5 separate regions of the Homo sapiens genome follow, and all the other regions are linked to region 3. Evidence: promoter capture Hi-C in human tissues and cell types (Jung and others, 2019). All regions are on one chromosome and are shown on one strand. Each heading gives the region's core, a stretch centred on a gene start or on the middle of the fragment in contact. The rest is flanking DNA. Distances are from core to core; before and after follow the strand shown.

Region 1 (2,700 bases), core at 88-2,587, 470 kb after region 3:
GCGTAGGAAGCAGAAACCACTCCAGGTGGTGTAAGCAGAAGGAGTTTCTTGTTGGAATTAGGTGCTTACAACATTGTTGGAGGGGCTCAAGGGGCAGGTTTCCGGCTGGGCCTTTTGAAGGACTCCTGGCTAGTTCAGAAGCAGCTGTTGCCAGCCCACAGCCATTCCTGGACTCTCTAGGAGGCTGAAGGATGAACAGTCTAAGTTGAGGTCTGAGGATTATGGAGTTTGGACAGAAATCACCACCACTGCCCTGCTTTTCTGGTACTCAGGAAGCGGCAGCACGACCTGGGTTCAAGGTGACTGGGACCGTCTAACCAGCAGTGACAGCCAGAAGCCACATTCTCACCGGGCACGTCTCATGTGAGCACACTAGTTCCCGAGTCGCAGCACCTGATTCACGTCCCGAGCTCTCGCCGTTTGGGCATCTGGGAAGCTTAGTTTCCCTCGTTCCAACCTCTCAATAGGAGGAGGATCAACGGGAGGTTTGGGAGGAGCCAACTGTGCAACCTCAGCTAGGTACGATTTTGACGAGTGGAACGGGTGGGGCCTGCGGCATTCACACTCCCAAGCTCAGCCTCCACCCAGGAGTGACTGCGCCCAGGCCGACCCCGGTGTCTTCCCACACTTGGCGTTAGCACCTTCTGCAGGTGGCAGCCTCCTTGCACCGGCAGGGAGACCACTGAGCGGCTTCACTCCTCCCTGGTTTTCTAAGCCTGTAAGACTGCTACCTTCCTGCGTGCTCCAAAAGCGATTGCTTTTTCACTTAGTTTCGTCTGATTGACGAAAGCTTGTCACAAGCTTGACAGAGGTTCAGGGAATGTGGGCAAAGCCGCGCTGCCTTCTACATCAAGTGCTGTTCATTTGGGTCATTAGGATTTCATGTCTGGTCCTGGTCTTCGTAATTAAACGTGTAAAGAGATGTCCTCCCAGCACTGTCATGAGCAGGAACTTTTTAGTAGAAATGTACTTGTTGATGACATGGTTGTATAATGTGATTGTGGGTGTAGGGGGACAGATGTGTTTCAAGTGCTAGAGAAATGACAATGATTTGGGTCTCATGGGACCCAGGCACAGGACCGTACACAGAGCAGGTGCTCAAAATGGCTTATTTAGTACATGGAGTGAAATGAAAAGAAGCTCAACGCAGGTGGAAGGTGATGCTCCGTGTCTCCCGGCTCTCCAGGCAGTAGTCATTCCTTGGCCCCTCAGATCCTCCATTTTGGGTGCAATGGTGTGGCTGTACTTTGTGGAGAAACAAATTTGGGCAGCTGAGTTCAGGGCTTCACGTGGAGGAGCGAGAAGGGGGCCACCCAATGCAGCTTTCCCTGGAAGCGTGTGGACTGGGGCACAGTTGTTGCAGGATGATTGGCTGCCACCATAAGTGGGCAAAATCATGGGCAGATCATCCTGCTTCCTTAATTGAATCTTGGAATGCATTCAGAATCTTCAACCCAGGGGTCTGGCACTCAAGGCGTTTGTGACCTGGCACTGACTCAGTACGCTCTAGCCAAATTGGGCACTCATGGCTCCCAGATGCTGTGCCAAGCTTTCACCTGCTTATCTTTGCTTGCACTGTTCCTGCCACCTGGAGGGACTTCTCTTCACCCATCTCTACCTTGAGAAATCCTCTCTGTCATTCATGGCCAACTCAGACACCCCTTCTTCATAGCATTCTTTGCCCGCCGGCCTCAGGAGCACCCTCTGGCACTATCAGAATGCCCAGGGCTCCTTTCCACCCTTTTCTCCTGGCCACAACCCTTTCTCCTGGCCACACCCCTTTCCGCCTCTTTGCCTGGTCCTGTGGGTGCTGTGCAGGCTCCCTCAGCCAAGCTCGGCATTCCCAGGCCTGGCTCCGAGTAGGTGTTTGTGGAATGAATGGCTAAAAAGTAAAGCAAAAAGCTCATGAAACAGAGGGGAAATCCAAAACTGATTAAAGAGAAAAAGGATTCTAACAAAAAAGACCGTGAGTGCTGGGTTCACACTGCCTGGGTTCAGGTCCTGGCTCCACTATTTAATAGCCCTGTGACCTTGGACAAACCAGTAAACCGCTTTGTGCCTCAGTTTCCCCCTATGTTAAGGATAAGCGTACTACCTAATCAGGGATGTTCTGAGAATTAAGATTCTTGAAAACATGTCAGCTTCTTGGAACGGTGCCTGCCTCGTAGTAAGTGTTAATATACGTTAGTGCACCACTCCCCTCCCAAGCTTTCCCAACTCCCTGGCTTGTCGAAGATAGTGTCAGAAACTGGCGTTTTTCCGAGCTCCCGCCAGATGTTCACCTCCGTTTCCATCCTGCAGTTGCGGCGAAATCAGTGGGAGATGTTTTCCTGAGGCGGCTCCATCCTTACTGTGGAAGGGAGAAAAGACGGGAAGGTCCACGGACCAAGGAGTGGCTCTTGCCAGGCTCTGTGCGAGGGCTCCTCATATGAAATGCTGTTTAATCTTCACACAGCCTCTGGGTATGGATTAATGTTCCTATCTGGGAGGAAGCTGAAGCTCAAAGAAGAGCAACAGCTTGCCTGGGATGGCACGGCGAGTGAGGGGCATGGCTGCAGTTGAAACCCAGATTGGATTTTGAAACCCATGTTCTCTTGACTGCTTCATCCAGCTGTTCCCACCACCTGGGGCTGGAGGCTGGGGGCTGCGTGTATGTGCGCACATGTGTGCATGCATGTGTGTGCATGCGTGTGGGTGTGT
Region 2 (2,887 bases), core at 140-2,639, 280 kb after region 3:
TAAGCACTGGGTATCTTAGCATATTGTATGTATATGTTCATTTAATCCTCTGGCTTCCACCTTTCAGGTGAAGTCGATTCAGAGACTCTGTTTTAATCCTCCAGAGAATAACTTCCAGTCATTGTGTTTGTGTAGAGAGCAGTCATCCCCTAGTGGCATGGAGATGGGGGGCAGCGACAGTAGGATTGAACTGTCCTGCTTAAACAATCATTCCTCCTATTAATACTTTCGTGAATTGGTGTCATATTCAGTGCTGTGTTCCTTGAAGTGGCTGACCCAAGTTTTGCTGTGTTTGTGTACTTAGTTCTCTAATTTGGTGCAAAAACATTAGCATATAGAGAAAACTTGGGAATGAACCAACATGATTTCTGTAATATAATATTGATATTCTTTCCTTACATAATTGCTAATTCCCATTATCGAACATATTCTGGTAAAACAAATATTTCTTTCTTAAAATTTCGGAATAATCCTAAACTTACAGGGAAGTTTTTTTTTTTTTTTTTTTTTTTTTTTTTTTTGAGATGGAGTCTCACTCCATTGCCCAGGCTGGTGTGCAGGGGCACGGTCTCAGCTCACTGCAACTTCCACCTCCCAGGTTCAAGCGATTCTGCTGCCTCAGCCTCCCTAGTAGCTAGGATTACAGGCATGTACCACCATGCCCGGCTAATTTTTTTTTGTATTTTTAGTAGAGACAGGGTTTCACCATATTGGCCAGGCTGCTCTCGAACTCCTGACCTTGTGATCCACTCACCTCGGCTTCCCAAAGTGCTGAGATTACAGGCATGAGCTACTTTGCCTGACCTGAAATGTTTTTAAACCAGAAGACTTTTTATAGACCATATCTGTCATTGTTTAGGATCTAAGTACCACATCTTTGTATTCGGTCATTATGGCCATGTAGCAGGATGGCGGGGAGACAGAGTCTTGCCCTGTTTCCCAGGCTGGAATGCAGTGGTGTGATCATAGTTCACTGCAGCCTTGACCTCCTGGGCTCAAGCAGTCCTCCTACCTCAGTCTCCTGAGTAGCTGGGACCACAGGTGCTTACCACCATGTCTAGCTTATTTGTTTGTATGTATGTATGTATTTATGTACATATGATGGAGTCTCACTCTGTCACCCAGGCTGGAGTACGGTGTCATGATCTTGGCTCACTGCAACCTCTGCCTCCTGGGTTTAAGTGATTCTCATGCCTCAGCCTTCTGAGTAGCTGGGACCACAGGTGTGCACCACCATGCCTAGCTAATTTGTATGTATGTATGTATTTATGTACATATGATGGAGTCTCACTCTGTCACCCAGGCTGGAGTGCGGTGGCATGATCTTGGCTTACTACAATAGCCCCCTCCCGGGTTTAAGCAATTCTCATGCCTCAGCCTTCTGAGTAGCTGGGACCACAGGTGTGCATCACCATGCCTAGCTAATTTGTATGTTTGTATGTATGTATGTATTTACGCTCATATGACGGAGTCTCACTCTGTCACCCAGGTTGGAGTCTCACTCTTGTCAACATGATCTTGGCTCACTGCAACCTCCGTTTCCTGGGTTTAAGCTATTCTCATGTCTCAGCCTCCTGAGTAGCTGGGATCACAGGTGTGCGCCACCACGCCCAGCTAATTTTTTTGTATTTTTAGTAGAGACAGGGTTTCACTGTGTTGGCCAGGCTGGTCTTGAACTCCTGGCCTAAAGTGATCCACCCGCCTCAGCCTCCCAAAGTGTTGGGATTACAGACATGAGCCATTGTGCCCAGACATATTCTTTTTTAGAGACAGGCTCTTGCTCTGTTGCCCAGGCTGATCTTGAACACCTGGACCCAAGTGGTCCTCCCGCTTCAGCTTCCTAAAGTGCTGGGATTACAGGGGTGACACCGCTCTCGGCCAAAAAATTAACTTTTTGTTAATCAGCCATCTTTTGCTTTTCTTCTCTTTTACCTAATATCCCTTGAAGTTTTAAACATTGTATGTTCTATATTTGATTCACTCTGTAGTTATAATTTTGTAGTTGATCTCTTCTTTACTATTTATATAAGCTCATACCTTTCCTAGTTACTCACTGCAGTAATTAACTTGCCTTATCCCTGAGAGGTCTGAAAAAAAAAACAATGACTAGCTTAAAGTTTATTGAACGCCTTGGAAAAGTGTGGTATAAAACAATAATATTTATTTCATTCTTGAGTTTGAATAATCCCTTACCTATTTCCTCTGTCTCCACCCTGCATGTTAGACTAGTGTTCCCTTTCTGTCTTCATCTTTTGTACATATGTTCATTGTGTCATTTATTATATATAATTTTAAATGTTTACACGTTTCTCCCCACTGGAATAAAAGCTCACTGATGGAAGAACCTACATCTTTTTATCCTTGAATTTCTAGCTAGACTATTGCCTTGCTTATGCCTGTAACAGGCCTTTAATTTATTGATTGGAAGCTTTAGTTTGGAGCATGTAGTGTGCAACAAAGTATTTCAATCTTTTTTTTTTTTAAAAACAAGTAATTCTTAATTCTTTTAGAAGCTGGATAAGAAATCATCTCCATCCACAGGAAGCCTAGATTCTGGAAATGAGTCCAAAGAGAAATTATTGAAAGGAGAAAGTGCGCTTCAGCGGGTCCAGTGTATCCCTGGCAATGCCAGCTGTTGTGACTGTGGCCTGGCAGATCCACGGTGGGCCAGCATCAACCTGGGCATCACCTTGTGTATCGAGTGCTCCGGAATTCACCGGTGGGTAGGCCTGCCCAGGATGAGAATTTCTTCTTTTGGATAAACACAGATAGAAATGGTTGTTTCACTTGTTAGTTGCCCTTTTCCACTTCCCTAATTTAATCACCAGTTTGTATCTTTGTACCTTTTAAGAAGTAGTTAAAATCCTGGTTTGTAAAAGCTGTTGAG
Region 3 (2,873 bases), core at 340-2,839:
ATACAGGTGAAGAAGACAGAAACATACAGGCTAGTGCTTCTCCAGAAATACAATTGAAATCAAAATCGCGTGAATATTACCTCTGGGGCCTTTTGTATATCTTAGAAACTCATTAAGTTCTTTGGATAGCATCCATTTAATTTATAAGTATTTACTGAGCACTTAGTATGTGCTTAGCCACTGGGGCACAACACAGAGTCAAAGAGACAAACTCCTGGCACGCCTCAAGCTCCTATCCTCCTGGGGAAAACATACTAAGCAGGATAATGTATAAATAAAGGAGAGAATTTCAGGTAAAGATATAATGAAGCAGGGAAAGGGACAGTGACAAGAGTGCTATTTTTGAAAGGTCAGGAAGCTTTTTAGGGAAAAGTGTCATCTGATCAGGGACCTGGAGTGGGGAAGGGAGCTACACAGAGCTCTTAGGGGAGGGCAGCACAGGAGGTCAGCGAGAGGCAGGCCCTGGGTGGTAGTAGGAATTTCTTATGTTTCTGAAAAGGCAAAGAACATCTTAAAGAAAGCGCTCACAACGTTTGGGATGTTACGGATCTGTGTTGTTGTTTTCATGTTTATAGACTCAGTGCTGTAAATGTATCTCTGTTGCTTACATATTTTAGAATGAATTTCATTTAGGAGTCTAAGTCTACTACGAAGGCACTGCCTTATCTAAATGTCTCTAAACATACCTCCTGCCTATCACAAAGACATAGAATCTCACTCACAAGAGTCAAAGTTGTTCATTCCACCAGGAGAGATAAGGCTGGACCAAAAGCACCCCTGGGTTTAAGTCCACACTCCCCACCACCCCGGCCCCCACCCCCAAGCAGTGACAGACTGTCTTGAACTTCTCGCTGCAAGGGTCATAAAAGGGACAGAGAACAGAGCGACAGAAGATGTCTTCTGCATTCTCAACTTTTAGCCCCAGTTGTTAGAGAACTGGTATCTCCCCTACACGTCTGGCTCTGGTGGAGAAAGAATGACAGCCCCTACTTACAACGAGGAGACTGTGGCTCAGAGAAGTTAGGGGGCTGCCCAGGATCCTGGAGAAAGCCAGCTTTGACTCATAACCCTCGCGCCATTACCTGACTCCCATTAGTGGAGTCAGGAACTCCATGTTCCACTTCAGGAAATGAGCTTGTTGATTTTTCATTTACACAAAAATGAAAAATAAATACCAGATGTTTGAAAACATGTTGCAACACGTCCTGCTGGAACTTAAAAGTGCATTCTGACCAAAAAAATTAAATTAGAAAATCCACATAGCAAAAAAAAAAATGTTTTGGATGAAAATATACTTTATCTTTCTCTCACACATACTCTCTCTCTCTCTCGCACACATACCCACACACACACACACACACACACACGCGCGCGCGAAAACAATATCTCATTTCTTCTTCAGGGAGCAGCTGTGAAGGAAATCGGGGGAGGAGGATGGACACAACATCCCATCTTTGTGTTTCGATACAGACTAAGCTTTTAGGCCAACCCTCCTGACTGGATGGGGGCGGCGGGCGTGGCATGCATGAAAAGTAAACATCAGAGACCTGAAGAAGCTTATAAAATAGCTTGGGAGAGGCCAGTCACCAAGACAGGCATCTCAAATCGGCTGATTCTGCATCTGGAAACTGCCTTCATCTTGAAAGAAAAGGTATGTACTGTAGTTTTAAGCTTTTCATTTATGATAATAATGTCTAAAATAGAAACAGTCTAGACTCTCCATTGCCCCATTTCAGCTACATATAACTACCACTGATTGAGAGCTTGTGCCGGTAGCTTTAGACTTGTTCTCATTTTTCCTCAAACAAATGTACAAGGTAGGTATCATCAGAGCCATTTTTCCAGTGATAAAGCTGAGGTTCAGATACACTAGCAACATGCCTAAGATAAAACCAAACCCAGTGTGAACTCATCCCAGCGTCTTTTGCTTACCCCTCCAAACTGGACAACGAGGTGTTTCCATGCACAAACACCGTCCTAGGTGAATTCTCAGCAAGCTGTCCAACGGTGCATCGCAGTAAAATAATCTGGAAACTGGAATTAATGGTGTGACTAGAAAATGCATTTGACAATATGGCATAAAATATTGTGTTTGGGAGATACGTGTCTTGTTATATTTAATGGCTAAATGAGTCTTTGAGACCTAATGACTTATTGGAACCTATTTTATTTTATGAGGTGAAATTTCAAAATCTAGTCCTTCACGTTCTGCAGATCTTTGAGGTCAGGGGCTGTGTCCCCAGGCACTAAGAGCGCGGGCTTGTGGGAGACCTAGGCTTACATTCTAGCCTGTCCCCAGGCCTAGGCTTACACTGTGGCTTCGTAGTTTACCAGGAAGTAACCCGGGCAAATTCACCTCGTTGGTATGAAGAGAGTGTCAGCAGAGGTCGCCTCCAGAGGAGGTGCTGTGGAGACTGAGCGCATAGCACCCTTAAAATCCTGGGACCAGGGCTTCTCCACGGGTAAGCTTAATGCAAGTGGAGCAGTGATTTCCAGCTAGTGCCAGGCCCAAGGTGGATGCACTGTCACCTTAGTTGGATTGCTTTTTAATTACCTCATATTCTGTTAAAAATCATATTTCTTTTTTTTTTTTTTTGAGACGGAGTCTCACTCTGTCACCCAGGCTGGAGTGCAGTGGCGCGATCTCGGCTCACTACAGCCTCCGCCTCCCAGGTTCAAGCCATTCTTGTGCCTCAGCCTCCCAAGTAGCTGGGATTACAGGACTGCACCACCATGCCCAGCTAATTTTTGTATTTTTTGTTTGTTTGTTTTTGTTTTGTTTTTTTGAGATGGAGTTTTTGCTCTGTTGCCCAAGCTAGAGTGCAATGGTGTGATCTTGGCTTACTGCAACCTCTGCCTCCCATGTTCAAGCA
Region 4 (2,700 bases), core at 144-2,643, 260 kb before region 3:
GACAATTTTTGTCCTAGTTACATTTGCCAAAGCAAAACAAAATAACAAAGCATAACTCTTCTCCACTGTTCACAGCTTCCATAATCGATCTGCACGGCCAGACCTCCTGGGTCCCCTACCCTGGGCCCTGCTCCCTCACAGGCCAGGGTGTCTGTAGGAGGGCCTCCATTCTAGGTTGAGATCCAGTGCTCTCCTCTGGTCCAGGATTACTGCTATTTCCATTTATTTTTTTTTTTTAGGTAAAAAATTGTTATTCTTATTTAACCATGCTGCATATATACAACAATATCAATATATACAACTTGAACAGATACAATTTATACATAAAGTACAATGAAAGCATGCCTTTTGAAATTGATGCAGCTGACTTACTCTTCACTTTGTAATTTTGGCCAGTATACAGTATTGCAGTAATACTGCTGAAGTTATTAATTATTTAAATGAGTTAGATTACATCATAAGTTTAAGGGCACTAGAAAATCTATGTTTTCCCAGCCTGGGCAACATGGTAAAAATGCATCTCTACAAAAAATACAAAAATTGGCCTGAAGAGGTGGTGCATGCCTGTAGTCTCAGACTTGGGGGACTGAGGCAGGGGGATCGCTTGAACCTCAGGAGGTTGAAGCTGCAGTGAGTGGGGATTGCACCACTGCACTCTAGCCTGGGTGACAAAGTGAGAACAAGAAAGAAAGAAAGAGATAAAGAGAGAAAGAGAGAGAGCAAGCGAGAAAGAGGGAGGAAGGGAGGAAGGATGGAGAAAGAAAGGAAAGAAAGAAAGAAAGAGAAAGAAAGAAAGAAAAAGAGTGAGGGAGGGAGGAAGGAGAGAGAAGAAAGAAAGAACGAAAGAATGAGAAAGAAAGAAAAAGATCTATGTTTTCTTCTATTCTTCTAGGATTTTTGTTTTTGTTTTTGTTGAGACGGAGTTTCACTCTTGTTGCCCAGGCTGGAGTGTAATGGCACGATCTCGGCTCACCACAACCTCTGCCTTCCGGGTTCAAGCAATTCTCCTGCCTCAGCCTCCCAAGTAGCTGGGATTACAGGCATGCACCACCACGCCCGGCTAATTTCGTAATTGTAGTAGAGACGGGGTTTCACCATGTTGTTCAGGCTGGTCTTGAACTCCTGACCTCAGGTGATCCACCTACCTCGGCCCCCCAAAGTGCTGGGATTACAGGCATGAGCCACTGTGCCCGGCCTCTCCTAGTATTTTTAAGAACAAGGAATAATTAAAAAGAAAACAAATGTGTACATTAGGAAATTGAGCAGACACTGGCTTACTTAAACGTAAACTCTGCCCATTCTTTAATTCACAGCCCTGCAGGAAAGAGGACTTTCCTTGAGATTAAAGTGAAGGGGAAGGATATTAAAAACAGACTAAAAAGAAACAGAAGCAAAGCAAAAAGAAAAAAAAAACAAAAAACCCAAAGCATAATCATGGTTTTAAAAATATGTTACAGATGAAGTAGCACCGCCCCCTACCACAAAGTCACCTGAAATTTTTGCTGCAAAAAAATTCCCCTTTCTCCAGAAAGTGAATGAAATAGCATATGGAATGGATTCCATTCATGGGGCAAGTGTGTGATGCAACCTCCTCGCCTTATTACATTTCTACTTTATAATAATCTAAACACAAACAGAGAATACGATTACATTTTAACACCCTAACTATTGGTATAGGCAACATAAGGATTCTTAAAGAACACACTATAAACCAGTAACTCTACCAAGCCTCCTTTTTTAGTAGAGACGGGGTTTCACGATGTTGGCCAGGCTGGTCTCGAGCTCTTGACCTCGAGATCCTCCTACCTCGGCCTCCCACAGTGCTGGGATTACAGGTGTGAGCCGCTGCGCCCGGCCCAAACTTTCTTTAAGATCTCGGTCTTTCCCTGTGGTTCCTCTTGCAAACTGGTCTATTTTCCTTCAGTTTCCAAGCCTTCTTACCTTTTTCCCTCAAGTTCTCTGCAAAGTTGCTCTGCTCTTTTCCTCCTTTCTTCCAGCTCTGTATGAGATTCTTCAAGAAGTTTCTCTCGTTCCTCGGCTTTGGCCAACAAATCAACGCCACCAACAATTACCTTCTTCTCCAGGGCAGAGAACTTTTCTGGCAAAGACTGATGCTCTTGTTGGGTTTTAAGATCTTTTTTCCTGTTTCTCGAATTTAGCTGCAGCCTTGTTTCTTCTTCCACGTCAAGCTTTGTTTCAAGTGCCTTTCTCTCCGCATCCGCTGTCGCCGGCGTTTCAACCGTCCTCTCTGGGAAGACTTTATTTCCCCCTTTTTTCCTTTTCTCTTCATCTTCTCCAATCTTACCCTCTTCATTGTCATCTCCGTCCGACCCACTGACATCACAGCCTGATATTTCTTCCCCTTCTGTGAGCTTCTTTTTCAGGTCTTCTATTTCTTTCTGAAATTGATGAAGCAAAGCATCCTTCAGATCTTCATTAAATCTAGCTTTATTTTTAATACTTTTTTTTGGAGACAGTCTTGCTTGGTTGCCTAGGCTGGAGTGCAGTGGCGCGATATCAGCTCACTCCAACCTCCACCTCCTGGGTTCTAAGCCATCCACCTGCCTCAGCCTCCCGAGTAGCTGGGATGACAGGTGCCCACCACCACGCCTGGCTAATTTTGTATTTTTAGTAAAGACGGGGTTTCACCATGTTGGTCAGGCTGGTCTCCAGCTCCTGACCTTGTGATCCACCCCTCTC
Region 5 (2,700 bases), core at 88-2,587, 300 kb after region 3:
AGAGCTCTTATCCTTTAAAAGATTCAGATGTAATCTTTGGCAATCACTGATTTATTTCTAGGAAACCCCACTTGTGAACTTTCTATCTGTACAACCCTAGGGACCTGGGACTCCCTGTTTCTTGCGTGGGGTGATTGAGAGCACACGTTTTCTTCAAAAGAAGGTGTGTCTCTCTTTGGCAGTCCCAGTAGCCCTTAGGAGACATGGGTGGGTGAGGGAAACAGCACACTCTTCTCTCAGTTGTTGGAAACCGGTTTGGTGGTTCCCACAGTCTCTGGCTCTGTGACTCTTCTTGATCGTTGGCAGGCTCTCAGCCAGTTGAGAATCATCACTGCTTTAGGGACCCGCTACTGGTTATGTGAGTATGTAGCAAGCACAAGTTGGGAATCGCTGATCTAAGTAATTATGAAAGTAAGCTGTTACCCACCCAGAAGGGGTAAGGTCGTGCATAGGATGACCTGGGGTGGGTCTCATGTGCTGCCGTCCCTGTGAGGTGAGGGGAGTACATTTCAAGAGCAAAATTAGCAAACTCTTGAATCATCATAACTGCTGTTGTGGTAGATATTCTGAATACCAAAAATTAAAAGTGAATTTAAACTGTCAGTGGAAACACAGCAGTCTGCATTTTAAAAACTTAGAGCTGTCCAGGCACATAGAAAAGTTAACTGTCTGAGGGGAAATAGAATGTGGTTAAGTTTAAAGAATATGCTTAGTATTATAAATGTTGAGTGATGAGTTGTTTACCATTTATAATAAACTGTTAAATGTATTTCTGGGAACATTCCATGGCAGCATATTCTGGGTTGTTGTTTATGTGTTCCAATGTAGACAAATTATATTTGCCTTGGGAAAAATTCTAAGTAATCAAAATTATATTTAAATATTAAAAAATCACATTGAAGTTCAATTTGTGTTAGCTGTATTAAATATCTTGGTCACTATTGTTCTTGTAACATTTGCTTTTGACAACACATTTTGAGATCTAAGAAAGGTAGTACATTAACAGTGCATTAATTAATGTTTTGTTAGAAACTAAATGTTAACAAAAAGTTTTGTGTGTATGTGAAGGTGGCAACTTCCTTTTGTATTATATTAACACTTTTTAAATGTATTCAGTCAGTGAAACCAATGATTATTATAGCACCAACACTTTCATTCAAGGAAGCATTTGAGTCTTATAATTTGTTTTGCATGGTACAATGGTTCTACTAAAATATACTTGTGTAATAGGTACTAGATGATTTAAAAACAAAACCGGAGAAACCATTTAAAAAGTTCCATAGCTTGTTATACAAAATATGCATTGCTAATAGTAGAAGCCATATATTGCCATTGTACTGTTGTAATACTTAACAGTGCTCATCTGGTGCTACCTGTAGACTATTTGGTATTAACGTCTGCTAGACCCTTCTTCCTATTTCTTCTTGAATGTATAATGTGTGCCTTTTAAGTTACTTCTAGTGTTGAATGGTAAAATCTTTGTGGTATTTTTGTATTATACTCTGCACTTTACACTTTCTTGGAAAGGAAAATTCCAGACTATCCAGTTTAAATAGTCTTTTAAAAATATTTATAATGTTTACAATAAATATTTTACATATTTTAATTCAACATCTGCAAATTAGAAAAAATATTTTATATGGTTTGTTGCTATTTAATGTTGCTCTATTTATTTTCTATCTTTTAGAATGGTTAAAATGAGAATAGCAATGTTTGTCTTTTGATGTGGAAGTGAACTTTTACAAAACCATGGGTATAATTGGATTGTCTTACCAGCTGTTCCAACGTATCAACCTTTTATTTTAGTCATGTCAATATGAGTTAGATGTTACTCTCAGCCACCTGTTAATAATCTCTTCTTACTGTTTTTTTCTTTTTAAAGTAGACTGATGAGGTTTAATTGATTGATTCAGGTCGGGAATAAATTTCCAGGGCTAAATGAAAACTATATAGAGATGTTAATAGTTGCTTTTTACCTAGACTAAATACAAAAAGTGACTAGAAAGTATTAGATTTTTTTTCCTTTTTTTTCTTTTTTTGAGGCGGAGTCTCGCTCTGTTGCCCAGGCTGGAGTGCAGTGGCGCGATCTTGGCTCACTGCAAGCTCTGCCTCCCGGGTTCACACCATTCTCATGCCTTGGCCTCCCGAGTAGCTGGGACTACAGGCGCCCACCACCACGCCCGGCTAATTTTTTGTATTTTTAATAGAGACGGGGTTTCACCGTGTTAGCCAGGATGGTCTCCATCTCCTGACCTCGTGATCCGCCCGTCTCGGCCTCTCAAAGTGCTGGGATTAGAGGCGTGAGCCACCCGGCCGGGCCAAAAGTATTAACATTTTTTTAATTCAAAATCTTGGCTTATGCTGTTAGACCTTTTTACTAGATCTTTACTCCTATCCTCAACTTTTTTCTAATTCTCTAGCTTTTGGTATGACATCTCTTGCTTCAAAAATCTCACTTTTTAAAAACTGACAAAACTTACTGCACTATTAACAACATCTGTAGCAATGAGTGTGTTATAAGGTGGATGCAAGGTATCTTATAGGAGATAATTTTAAAATGTTACAATAATAATCAAAAACAGTATTTTATGGTTGAAATCTTGAGAACAGAATTATGCCAAGCATTTGTATAAGGCTAATGTTTAGCAGGAAGCATTCATGATCAACGATTTATCTTGAAAATAAGATTCCTTCGTCTGA

What was found. Contacts are between HindIII fragments. The study calls those that stand out against the background at their distance.
Region 1: a fragment that was not itself captured here is called in contact with the fragment with the promoter of APOD in region 3 in 2 of the 25 tissues and cell types used here (spleen and thymus).
Region 2: a contact is called between a fragment that was not itself captured here and the fragment with the promoter of APOD in region 3, in 2 of the 25 tissues and cell types used here (dorsolateral prefrontal cortex and spleen).
Region 4: a contact is called between a fragment that was not itself captured here and the fragment with the promoter of APOD in region 3, in 2 of the 25 tissues and cell types used here (H1 embryonic stem cells and lymphoblastoid cells).
Region 5: a contact is called between a fragment that was not itself captured here and the fragment with the promoter of APOD in region 3, in 2 of the 25 tissues and cell types used here (lymphoblastoid cells and spleen).

Annotation. Positions count from the first base shown.
Region 1 is chr3:195,112,841-195,115,540 of GRCh38, reverse strand. All of the region lies in intron 3 of XXYLT1 (xyloside xylosyltransferase 1), which reads left to right. Among named protein-coding and RNA genes, the nearest start is that of XXYLT1-AS1, 20 kb to the right of the region's middle. The HindIII fragment of the contact is 3,156 bases long and covers 1-2,700 here.
Region 2 is chr3:195,301,798-195,304,684 of GRCh38, reverse strand. ACAP2 (ArfGAP with coiled-coil, ankyrin repeat and PH domains 2) reads left to right here. Exons shown (of 23, transcript NM_012287.6): 14 at 2,511-2,719. Among named protein-coding and RNA genes, the nearest start is that of XXYLT1, 32 kb to the right of the region's middle. The HindIII fragment of the contact is 3,704 bases long and covers 1-2,887 here.
Region 3 is chr3:195,582,656-195,585,528 of GRCh38, reverse strand. APOD (apolipoprotein D) reads left to right here and starts at 1,589. Exons shown (of 5, transcript NM_001647.4): 1 at 1,589-1,651. RefSeq lists an enhancer at 1,969-2,138. The HindIII fragment of the contact is 4,834 bases long and covers 1-2,069 here.
Region 4 is chr3:195,843,753-195,846,452 of GRCh38, reverse strand. All of the region lies in intron 1 of LINC01983 (long intergenic non-protein coding RNA 1983), which reads left to right. The region is part of intron 1 of LOC107984010 (a long non-coding RNA gene); the gene reads left to right. It also overlaps the pseudogene KIF3AP1. Among named protein-coding and RNA genes, the nearest start is that of LINC01983, 15 kb to the left of the region's middle. The HindIII fragment of the contact is 9,125 bases long and covers 1-2,700 here.
Region 5 is chr3:195,280,744-195,283,443 of GRCh38, reverse strand. All of the region lies in intron 22 of ACAP2 (ArfGAP with coiled-coil, ankyrin repeat and PH domains 2), which reads left to right. Among named protein-coding and RNA genes, the nearest start is that of XXYLT1, 11 kb to the right of the region's middle. The HindIII fragment of the contact is 4,996 bases long and covers 1-2,700 here.